Linked DNA regions of Homo sapiens: region 1 is linked to region 2. Evidence: promoter capture Hi-C in human tissues and cell types (Jung and others, 2019). All regions are on one chromosome and are shown on one strand. The core of a region is centred on a gene start or on the middle of the fragment in contact, and the rest is flanking DNA. Distances in the headings are between cores, read along the strand shown. Region 1 holds the start of QRFP (pyroglutamylated RFamide peptide). Region 2 overlaps FUBP3 (far upstream element binding protein 3).

What was found. The method cuts DNA at HindIII sites, captures the fragments that hold promoters and counts their contacts. A contact is called where the count stands out against the background at its distance.
Region 1: a contact is called between the fragment with the promoter of QRFP here and a fragment that was not itself captured in region 2, in 6 of the 25 tissues and cell types used here (H1 embryonic stem cells, bladder, dorsolateral prefrontal cortex and 3 more).

What each region holds. Positions count from the first base shown.
Region 1 is chr9:130,892,167-130,898,061 of GRCh38, reverse strand. It overlaps QRFP (pyroglutamylated RFamide peptide), which reads left to right and starts at 1,250. Exons shown (of 3, transcript NM_198180.3): 1 at 1,250-1,485; 2 at 2,081-2,365; 3 at 4,224-5,355. The coding sequence starts at 4,224. The coding sequence ends at 4,634. RefSeq lists enhancers at 1,755-2,441, 2,442-3,129, 3,918-4,432. The HindIII fragment of the contact is 19,380 bases long and covers 228-5,895 here.
Region 2 is chr9:130,597,113-130,603,096 of GRCh38, reverse strand. The region is part of intron 2 of FUBP3 (far upstream element binding protein 3); the gene reads right to left. Among named protein-coding and RNA genes, the nearest start is that of FUBP3, 21 kb to the right of the region's middle. The HindIII fragment of the contact is 4,064 bases long and covers 1-3,838 here.

The DNA.
Region 1 (5,895 bases), core at 1-2,500, 300 kb before region 2:
AGGGAACCCCACAGGCTTCGAGGTGGTCCACGGACTCCACCCCCAGAGCGGCTTCCTGCACCACCAGCCCCACCACCCTCACGCCTCGCCTCCCTGCATTTACCCGACAGCAGAAAAAGCCTCCAGCGCTGGAAGCCGCCCCGATGGGTACTGCCACTCTTGGACTGATCTAGCCCCGGCCACCCTGTGCATCCAGGCAGCCCAGACCCTGCCTATCTCGGCTGCTGGTGGCAAACAGTGGCACAGTTGTCACCCCCAATTGCTCAAGAGGTGGGGGAACCCAGATGCTTCCAGGGGCCCAGGAAGGGCATCTGAAAGCAATTTTTCCGTCCAGGAGTTCCAGGGGTGGAGGGGACCAGGCAAGTCCCTGGAGTCAGAAGGTTTGGCACCAAATCCAACGCCTGACTGGGCTCCAGGCACCCCGGTCTGAAGGGGGCAGGCGGGGACCTGAGGCTGGGGAACATGTGGGCCACGTGGGGACCCCTCATCCTCACCCCAATATTGCTCCCACCCCAGACCAGCCCCTCACATGCAGGACATTCTGTGACCACCTCTCAGAGCCACAGACCTCAGTCCCGCAAAAGGACTCCGGGCCCTGGTGGTTTCAAAGCAGAACCTTTTCTGGGAGCTCAACATGTCAAACACAGCAAAGTGGGGCTTGGCCTGAGGGGCACAGGGGCGCGTGCAGGGCACAGGGGTGTGTGCGGGGCACAGGGGTGCATGCAGGGCACAGGGGTGCGTGCGGGGCACAGGGGTGCCTGCGGGGCACAGGGGTGCATGTGGGTCACAGGGGTGCCTGCGGGGCAGAGAGGTGCCTGTAGGGCAGAGGAGTGTCTGTGGGGCAGAGGGGTGCGTGTGGGGCAAAGGGGTGCCTGTAGGGCAGAGGGGTAGCCTGTAGGGGAGTGGGGTGCCTGTAGGAGAGGGGTGCCTGCGGGATTGGACCCCATGTTGCCTTCCCCAACTTCCATGGCCATTCCTGAGGAATTCTGCAAAGCACAGCTTGGGAACTTGAACCTCGCTTTACACCAAGGGAGCACTGAGGCACCCAGAGGGCAGGCATCCGGTCCAGGCTCATAGCACGGTAGAGACCCACCCTGGGCGGCACCCCATGGATAACTGGTGCCCGCTGTCAGAATCAACCAGCACTAACCAGGGAGACAGAAGGACACCACACCTCCCGTCTCACGAGCACACACACGTGTACGCACGTGTGCACATACTCATGTGGGGGCATACACACACATGCACACACAGGACAGGGGCACCTCAGGCCATCGGAGGCAGCCCTGGCCTGGGGGATGGAAGCTGGTTCTGGCCAGCAAAGCTCAGTCATCGGCTTCAATCCGCAGACCCTCCGCCCGAACCTGGGCGCTCAGCCCCGAAGTGGAGGATCGAGATTCCAGTGCCTTCCTCAGGTCTCTGGGGAAGTGTCCACAGGCTCTCTATTCCCATGACTTCTGATCCCCCAGCAGCCGGGATGCAGGGGTAGGTCGGCTGGGTGAGGGCCCCTGGAATGGGGGAGGCCCTCTGTGCTCAGTTCCTGACAGTGGTGGGGTGGGGCTGCCTCATCACCCCCCTGCCTGCTCTCAGTGGAGGGAGAATCTCTGCCGGGCAAGGAGCAGAGGCTGGGTCCTCCTGCTGGCCTCCCAGAGGTGACCCTCGGTGACAGTAGGGGGCCACCCAGGGTATGCGGTGGGAGGGGCTGGGGGCCACAGGCAAATGCTCCACTGCTGTCCTGGGCATCTGCCGTGCCCCCTTGGTTGGTTCCTGGGTAACAGGCCGCTGAGGGCTCCACCTGCCGGGGAGGTGCACCTGGCTTAGCCGCGCAGCCCGGTGCCTGTGAAACACGGGCCTCATGGGTGTCTGTGGCTTTCCTGCCCATGAAAGCCATCCTGCAAGCTGGGCAGTAGGTGTGTCGGGTAGATGTCCACCCACCCCATGTCCTCTCCGGAGCGTGAGGTGCCAACCCAGCAAAGGCAGGACCCTTAGGGTGAAGGGTGGGCTTGGAACCCCCGCCAAGGGACTCGAGGGTCTGTGCCCGCAATTTGCAGTTAATGATGCTGTCTGCTCTCCTCCAAAGGGCAGCCCGCCTGCCCTCTCATCAGACTACATCCTGTGTGAGGTTGTTTTTATCAACGCGGTCAGCACTGCCCCTCTTCAACAACAGCGTCCCCAATGGAATCCCAGGGTCAGGAATGCGCAGCAGGCAGTCGGCAGAGCAGCAAGCGCACCGCGGGCCATATAAAGCAGGGAGAGCCCAGGGGCCATGCCTCCTGGACGAGGACCCAGAGCAGCTCTGCCCAGCCCAGCCCCGGAGCCCAGCGATCCACCAGCCAGCCTTCCTGGGAGCAGTCCCAGCCACACGGTGAGCATAGCTGCCCTGTCCCCAGCAGGAACCCCAGCTCAGGCCCTGCCCAGGCAGGAGCCAGGCATGGGCAGTCAGAGGGCACACAGAAGCACAGGGAGGGAGTGCCCGGAGAGGGGACACCAGTGCCTCCCCTGCCAACAGCCCAGAGCAGCACAGATTGGTCACGGCTGCCCTGCCAGGGCTGGGACCCAGCCTCACCCGTGCTTTTCCTGTCCCTTCCTGGCTGTGGGGCCTGAAGCCCTGACTCGCGCTGGGGCCGCCTGTCCCGTGATGAGCATCCCCACTTTCTACCAGATTCTTGAAGGGGTGCATGAACCCCTAAAAGGGGTGAAGGGCCACTCCAGGGCCTGCTCTGTCAGGCTGTCTCCTTTCTAGACACCCAGAGGCCACTCCCGGGTGGATTTATCCACCAGGATGCAACGGTCCCTGGTCCACATCGCAGTCAGCAAAGTGCTTCCTATGGGGAGGAGGGAATGGGCTGGGCCGCTGCAGAAAGTCACCTCGTGGAAGCCCCCACTCTGCCTGCGCCCTGATGGAAAGGTTTTCCTGGCAGCATGAGGGAGGTCACTCCATCCCTGGGGGACGAAAGCTTAGAAGAACTGGATTTGGGTAGAAAGTGGGGTTGCATGTATTATTTTTTTAAAAGCTTCCTGGCTGAGCTCGCTTCTTTGAAATGTGTTCGAGGGAGCCATTTCTGGAAAGGGCTCTGGGGACTCCTGTACTGTCTTCTCCAGGGCCGGTGCTCTCTAGTCTAGCCTCAGTTTGACTCTGCGGAGGACAAGCCAGCTCCAGCTCCCCCGCGGTCATTGTCAAAAAGGTTTTCTTTGCCAGACAAGGGAGCAAGTGTTACCAAGGCAGGTTCATTACAGGAGGCTGGGTTTCAGATCCCCCGAGTGCCATGTGGAGTACAGAGGAGGGAGTTAGGGCACGCCTTCCTGAGTCAAGCCCAGTTAGACCTGGGATTGAACTCTAGCTCTGGCACTGATAAGGCCATGAGATCTGGGGCAAGTCACCTCAGCTGTTTGAGACCGACACCACCCCTGTGAAATAGGAGGGTTGGGAGTACCTAGCAGATATGTATGCTTCTTGAAGAAGCCGTCTGGCCATTAGAATCATGAATCCAGAGCCTCCACTTTCTGGCTGTGTGGCCTGGGCACAATCTCAGTTTTTCTGACAGTTTTGTTGCCTGAAAAAGTGGGACTGGCCGGACCTACCAAGCAGGAGTACTATGAAGATGAAGTACAATCACATGTGTGAGCTCTTGGCTCAGAGCCTGGCAGACCTACGGTGCCCAGGCCCCAGTGGTGTCCACACACTCCTTCCCAGGTGGGTGTCCGAATTAGGCCAGGACCATCCAATCTGTTTCTGGCTTTCAGGAGCAACTCGTTCCCACGTGAAAGAGACATTAGCAGGATGTCCCAGCTAAACAGCATAGCTAGACCCATTTATTATCCAGTTGAACACTAAGGGAGATTGATGCTTTTAACTTTCCACCCCATGGCTCTGCAATGATATGGCCATTTTATAATAAGAGAAAAATGAGCATACATTTGCTGACTCTCCCGGGGCCGCCTGGGCACTGCTCTGCCAGCCAGCAGCGGTGGATTTACGGTGCTAAGCTGCCCAGGCACGCAGATCGTGGGGACTGCAGGAGAAGAACCGGCCTAACTGGCACAATCACCTCCTGATCCTGCTAATAAAACAGTGGCCTAGTCCCAGCACTGCTCGGAAGCCGGGCTCAGCTGAGCCCCCTGCTCACATCTACGCTGCCAGCCTGTCCCGGGGAAACATTTTGGTGAGTTGCGCTTGGCCACGTGTGCAGCCTGTCACTCTGCCTCTCTTTCCTCTGGGTCAGATGGTAAGGCCTTACCCCCTGATCTACTTCCTCTTCCTGCCGCTGGGCGCCTGCTTCCCTCTACTGGACAGAAGAGAGCCCACAGACGCCATGGGTGGCCTCGGAGCTGGAGAACGCTGGGCCGACCTGGCCATGGGGCCCCGACCCCACTCCGTGTGGGGTTCCTCTCGGTGGCTGAGAGCTTCACAGCCACAGGCCCTGCTTGTCATAGCCAGGGGGCTGCAGACATCGGGCAGAGAGCATGCTGGCTGCAGATTCCGCTTCGGGAGGCAGGACGAAGGCAGTGAGGCCACCGGCTTCCTCCCTGCTGCGGGGGAGAAGACCAGCGGCCCGTTAGGGAACCTGGCTGAGGAGCTCAATGGCTACAGCAGGAAGAAAGGCGGCTTCAGCTTCCGCTTCGGTCGGCGGTGAAGGGCCAGGACGCCTTGGAAGGATTTGCTTCTTGGACTCACCCCCATTGTCTTCACTCCTGCCTTCTCCCCCAGTCTCAAAGACCACGACACCCAGATGATGTAGGCTTGGTTACGATGAACGATCCATGGTAGGACAGGTTAGGTGTGTGCTTACTTTTGATTTCCAACTTTGCTGAAGCGAAAAACTAGGCAGTGTCAAAAAGGAGGCTGTCTTGGAGCCTCGGTCGTCCCAGCCTCTCTCTTCCCCTGGGGCTTTGACTCCGAGCAGCCCCCTGGCCCCAGGGGCACGGAGCTGAGGCTGTGGCTGGGCCATGAGTGTGAATAGCAGAGCGAGGCAGCGGGCTGAGTGCTTACAGTTGGGTAATCAAAGTTGTGACAGTCTCTATAGGCACGACTGCGGCTGACATCAGAGTGCAAATGAGTGCATTCCACTGGGTACAGAGGATGGTTCTGAAAGTTAAAAATGGGAAAAAAGAACCCGATCCCCTTCTCCATGCCATGAGCACAAGATCCCCCTGGCAAGAAGCCCCTGCTGTGGTTTGCCTGCCCCTCTGACCGCAGCCCTTCTCCGCGGCCCAGTGTTAGCCCGGCCAGGAGTCTCCTGGGAGATGCGTTGGGAAGGAATCCCGTTTTTGCTATAGCAAGGTTGCATTTCACATGTTCAAAATCAGAATATGTCGTGTGTATCTTTTCAAATAAAAGTTGTGACAACTGCAAAACCATACTGGAATGCTGGCCTCCCCCACAGTCTGAGTTCTGGGTGCCTTGCCTTTCGGGAGATGGAGCTCCTGTTGACTGGACCCAAACACCCCTCCTCTAGATCCCTGTAACCGGCAGTCGGTCAAAGGGGCGGAGGAACACAGCACATGTGCTTTTCACTTCCACTCGGCTGCTCCTTCCCAGGTTTCCTAAGAGCAAGGAACATTCGGAAAACAACTTCTCTGCCCCGGGGAGAGCCCACGCTCAGCCGGGAGTGGCTGCAGGCCCGGGGCCAGGCAAAGCATCTGTTTCAAACGCGCCTTTGGTGTCTCCTGCATCCCATCCCGTGTCAGAGGCGGCGGTCGGATGCTGCTCACTCCCGGGCTGGCTTCCGCTGCTGAGATGAGAACTTACATTGATGTTACTATGGCAACCCCTCCCCTCCTCCTTTCGAGCTGCAGCTTGCCCCTGTTCACAATTGAATAATTTCCCATTGAGCTGTCACAATTAATTGGTGGATTTTTATTAGCCTTTTAGAACCACACTGGGCTGGGCCCAGC
Region 2 (5,984 bases), core at 557-3,056:
GGGATTACAGGCGTGAGCTACCATGCCCAGCCTCCCTTCACTGTTTCTTACCAAGGCTCTACCCTTTGTTACCTTGGGATTCTCCATTCAGAATTCTTGCCTGGCCCCACTGCTTGGGGATTTTTCCACCCCAGGTGACCGCCCACTGTACACCAAAAGTGGGGAACGGGAGAAGGGGCGTGGCAGGAAGGGCATAACCTTCAGGGGCAGACGTGACTCTCAGAAAGGCCCATTTTAGGGAAGAGGGCAGACAGGAGGTAAGGAGCTGAAAAAGGAACCTGGGAAGCCTGCCCATGTCCACCGCCCCTGGAAAGCCTTCATCTGCCCTTGATGATGACTGCCCAACCACATCCCAGCCTCACTTTACCTCTTCCCTCTTCACAAAAGGCAAACCTTCCTCCTAACCCCTCCTACTCTCAGGAACTAGGTTTTGGTCTTGGCTTTTCATCCCTCCAATATCTGTCATCATCCCCCATTCAGGGAAAGTATCAACACTTCTGAGATTCACTTCCCTCTTTCCAGAGTGGAGACTGGTGGCCTCAGCACCTGCCTGGGGTGCAGGTCACAGGCAGGGGTCCGGGCATCATGGCTCTCACCACCGCTAGCACTTGTACCTCCTATCTCCTGTCTCTCCTTGAGGTCTGGGATTTTCAAACGTCTTTTCCTCCCTCCTGTCTTCCTTTTCTGTCCTTGCCCTATGCCACAAGTACTGAAACAAAGCTTGGAAAGGATCACAGAAATAGTCTATTTCACTCTTCCTGCAAATAATTCATTTGACAGAACGCCCAAGAATTCGTCCTTTACCCCGTAAGAATACAGCAGTTCCCCCTCATCCATGAGGGATATGTTCCAAGACCCCTGGTAGGTGGCTGAAGCCATGGAGAGTACCGAACCCTGTATACGCTACATTTTTTCCTATACATTGGTGAGTGGGTAGTGTATACAGTGTGGATACACATGCTACTCAGAATGGTGTACAATTTAAAAATTAGGAATTGGCTGGGTGCGGTGGCTCACGCCTGTAATCCCAGCCCTCTGGGAGGCCGAGGCAGGTGGATCACGAGGTCAGGAGTTCAAGACCAGCCTGGCCAACATGGTGAAACCCCATCTCTACTAAAAATACAAAAATTAGCTAGTTGTGGTGGCGCACGCCTGTAATCCCAGCTAATTGGGAGGCTGAGGCAGGAGAATCACTTGAACCTGGGAGGCAGAGGTTGCAGTGAGCCAAGATCGCACCACTACACTCCAGCCTGGGTGACAGAGCAAGACTCCATCTCAAAAAAAAAAAAAAAAAATTAGGAATTATTTCTAAAATTTCCATTTAATAATTTCGGCAGTGGTTGACCGTGGGTAACTGAAACCGTGGAAAACGAAGTCATGAATAAATGGGGAACAACTGTATTATCAAAAGTAGAAAGTGTGGTACTATAAAAGGTGCTGTTCTTCAGCAGGTCATGAAGTAAAAAGAATAAAAAGGACAAAAAAAAAGGTGCTACATAAATAGCAAAGACGAGTCTTTGAGTGAAGAGGCAGGCATAGTTTCAAAGCCCCTTGCATGGCCTTACCCCCGCCACCCCAGTGGTGAGGACAGTGCTGTACTCTCCTGAAGTCCTGGTTTTGGTGCCACCCACTACACAGAATGCAGGGGGAGTATGAGGCCTGCTTAGTTCAACTAAAAAAGCTCCTAAAAATGCTCCTGAGGAAGAAAACTGGAAAGGCTTTGATCTTTGATCAGGAGAGATACAGAGGGACAAATGGGAAGTGACTTCTCTGTCTGTCCATCAGCTCTGGGCAAACATGAGAAAGCACTTGTTTCAGGTGGTTAGGGCAGTTGGACAGTGAACCATGAGACGGGAGACTTGTTTAAAGAAACTGGGGGAGGGGTACTCTCTATATACTTCCCTAACTAAAGATGAAGAAAATGTTTTCATCAACTGATGAGGCTGATTTTAGTTGAGGGCTGGCAAATTAAGCTTGAGGGCCAGCTGCCTGTTTCGGTGAAATATCTTATTGGCTCACAGCCATGCTCTTTGTTTATGTAGATGCTACAGCTGTTTTTGAACTCCAATAGCGTAGCTTAGTAGGTGGGATACATAGCCTGCAAGCTTAAATTTATTTTTGTTTGTTCTGAGATCACTATGTCACCCAAGCGGAGTGCAGTGGTGCGATCACTGCTTACTGTGGTCTTGACCTCCCAGGCTCAGGCAATCCTCCCACCTCAGCCTCCTGAGTAGCTGGGGCTGCAGGCATGCACCACCACACCCAGCTAATCTTCTTTCATTTTTTTGTAGAGATGGGGTCTTGCTATATTGCCCAGGCTGGTCTCAAACTCCTGGACGCAAGCAATCCTCCCACCTCGGCCTCCCAAAGTGCTGGGATTATAGGCATAAGCCACCATGCCTGGCCCCTAAAATGCTTACTATCAGGTCCTTTATAAAAAAGCTTGTTGCCAGGTGCAGTGCAGTCCCAGCTACCCAGGAGGCTGAGGTGGGAGGATCACCTGAGCCTGGGGGATAGAGGCTGCAGTGAACCATGACTGCCCCACTGCACTCCAGCCTCAGCAAGAGTGAGACCCTGTCTTTAAAAAAAAGAAAGAAAAGCTTGCCAACCTCTAATTTAGATTACATTTAAATTCGCACTTCTAAATCACTTAGCTAATACTATTGTCTTAAATTTGGAACTTACTTTTCCCAAAATTTAAAAATGCAAATCGTAGGAAACACGGGAGAACTTGAGCATGAAAAACATGGGAGAACTTGAGCATGAAGAGTCCATGGGAAATGAAGCCAGTCTTTATGGCCACATCACGTAGGCTCTGCTAGGAGAGGTGCACAGCGGGACCCAGTAACCGCGGAAGGAAGGTCTGCCCTGAGCAGAGGGCAAATACACTGCTTTAGAAATTCAGAGAAGGATATGACTTAATATTCACTGGTCAGGTGGGTGTGTGAAAAAGGGAAAAGAGGGGGAAAGAGGGAGGGAGGGAGGGAGGGAGGGAGGAAGGAAGGAAAAGGTAGAGAGAAGACCAAGAGGCTAGGTGGCATGTGGGCTGAGCCCCGAAGAAAGTCAAAAGATAAGGAAGAGGACAGGTTTCTAGGAAGAAGTTGGCTGAGCAGGAGTTGGGCAGGTTAAGAGCTGGGTGAGGGGAGAGAGGAGACAGGCAGCCAGGCTGCTACACAGGAGGAGCACAGGAGGTGCACGGGAGGAGCCAAGCGGGAGGGCAGGCAATGGCCAGGTTGCAAGATCTGCACCTCCCTGGTTACTGGAGGAATGAAACTGGTTGGACTGACTGCAGGGAGAGGCTCCAGTTGAAACATGAGAGAAGTACTGGATGAAAAAGGTGCCACAACTGAGACCAGAAGGCAGATTCCTGAACTGGTGGGGTGCCAAGGATGCATATCAAAGACTGCTGGAACATGTGGGTATCAAGATTGAAGACAGTGAAGGTTAAAATGGCCTGATCCAAAGCTGGAGGGCGGTGGAGTGACTGGTGACTGCTCTTCCCACGGACAGGCATTCAGGCAAGCTTTCAAACTGAGCTCTAAATTCTGCTCTGGGTTCTAAGCAGACTCATGAACAGCGTTCTGACAAGTGGCTCAAAACTGCCACTCTCTGAAACACAACTAACCCAAATCCCTTTCTATATCAGGAACAAATCCTTTCCCTTGTTCCACTGCCTAGCATATTAAAAAAAACTTTACATATATATATATATACACACACACACACACACACACACATATACTTATATATATGTGTATATATGTGTGTATATATGTGTATCTATATATGTATATATGTATTTTTTGAGATGGAGTCTCACTCTGTTGCCCAGGCTGGAGTGCAGTGGTGCGATCTTGGCTCACTGCAACCTCCGTCTCCCAGGTTCAAGTGATTCTCCTGCCTCAGCCTCCCAAGCAGCTGGGACTACAGGCGCGTGCCATGACATCCAGCTAATTTTTTGTATTTTTAGTAGAGACGGGGTTTCACCGTGTCAGCCAGGATGGTCTCAATCTCCTGACCTCGTGATTTGCCTGCCTTGGCCTCCCAAAGTGCTGGGATTACAGGCGTGAGCCACAGTGCCCGGCCTTATTTATTTTTCGGAAATACGGTTTTGCTATGTTGCCCAGGCTGGCCTCGAATGTCTGGGCTCAAGCTTTCCCACCACCTCAGCCTCCTGGGTAGCTGGGATTACAGGTGTGAGCCACCATGCTGGGCATCTCTAGGAATTCTAAGAGGAGATGGCCACTGTTTTTAGATGTGGGAGCCTTTGGGGGAAAATTCTTTAGACTCACACTGAAGATTTTAAGGGGATGGCACTCACTTGATTGTAAAAATTCGTGTGTATTTACAAAGTGTTTATGACCACAAAACAGAAAATCCACCCCAGGGCCACTGGAACTAAGATAACCATTTAAACTACTTATCCAAAATAGTACGCTGTGATCTTTTTATATTTGACTGGTGTTAGTGATTCCCTAGGCCAAATAGGGATGATTGCATTAACTGCATTTTTGCCTTAGCAGAAAGCTGTAATGCAAAGTAACCTCTTTACCTTTTCGAGGCAATCATACTTTGGTTCCTCTTGAGACAGCAACGTAAAAACAAAACTAAGTTGTCTGCCTCTGTGCACACACCTCACTAACGGACAGTGTCTCTTTGGCCCAGTGTTTCCAGAAATTGAGATCAATATATTTCACAACTCATTCAGCCTTTCACAACAATTTCACAATTCAGCCTTGTTTTTTTCACCCACTGCCTGGCGCTGAAGGGTTAAAACTTGTGCTTGCAGTGAGCAGGTATCTGCTGCGTCCTCTGCATAAGGAATACCTAAATATTTGCAAATGAAACCCTCTAGCATTTTGCAGACATTTTTCTCCCATTAGTCCATTGCACATACATTTGAAAGAAATTAGCACTAATAAAGAGATTATCAGTATTGATAAAGAGAACTGGGTCACAGGCAGATGTTAGCTGACTTGGCCAAAGATCACCCAGTAGGTCCAGAATCTCACTTAAAACCTCGGGTTCATTTATATTGCGTATTTTCACTTACTTGTTTTGATAACCATATTTTTTTCCATGTCTACCTTTTGGGGAATAAGTCTTCACAAACAGAAAATGACCATGGTTTATCTTTTTCTTCCCTCTAAATATGAAGCCCTCCTATAGCAAGAAGGAAAGTTTCTGTGTCGTGCTGAATCTCTCATCCTCCCTGAACACCCGGTCTTAGGTAACAACAGGCTGTATTTGAAGAACAAGGAATTTCCCTCAGGCTTCTTACATTCTGTATTACAGCTCGATAAAATTAATCGTGTCTTCTGTTGAGCACTGTTTAAATAACAGGATTACACATATTGTTTTTTTCTCCAAGCTGTTCTCCACGTGTAGAATTTGAGTTCTGTGTTGATCTCAGCGTCTGGGGACTGCCACAGCCCCTTTTTGTCAGTTGTCTTCTGGTAGGGGTAAGGTCACTGGGCCACTCTCTTAAGAGACAAAGAATGTGAATAAGCAGATCCTGTGAAGGGAAGTGATGTTCATGTTTACCTGGCCACCTTCTAGGCTCACAGTCTTGCTGATGGCGTGATGAAAAGTTTAGAAAAGCAGAGGCAGACCAAGCGGCCGGAATTCTGGCACATTTTTCTTAGCAATAAAGATTTCCAAAGGCTGTGTAGCTGTTTGTTTGGTTTGGCTTGGGTTTTCTTTGACAGAGGCTACCAGATCACTTCTTTAGCAACATGAACTTTCTAACTTTCCCTTGAAGCAGGGTTAACCTTTACGAGGTTAAAGTTCAGTCCTCTAGAACTTTTTGGAGGTGTTATTTGGGTCTATTTAAAAACACTTCAACTCAGCCATAAAAAAGAATGAGATCCAGTCATTTGCAACAACATGGATGGAGCTGGAGATCATTATGTTAAGTGAAATAAGCCAGGCGGAGAAAGACAAAAATTACATGTTCTCACTTATTTATGCAATATAAAAATCAA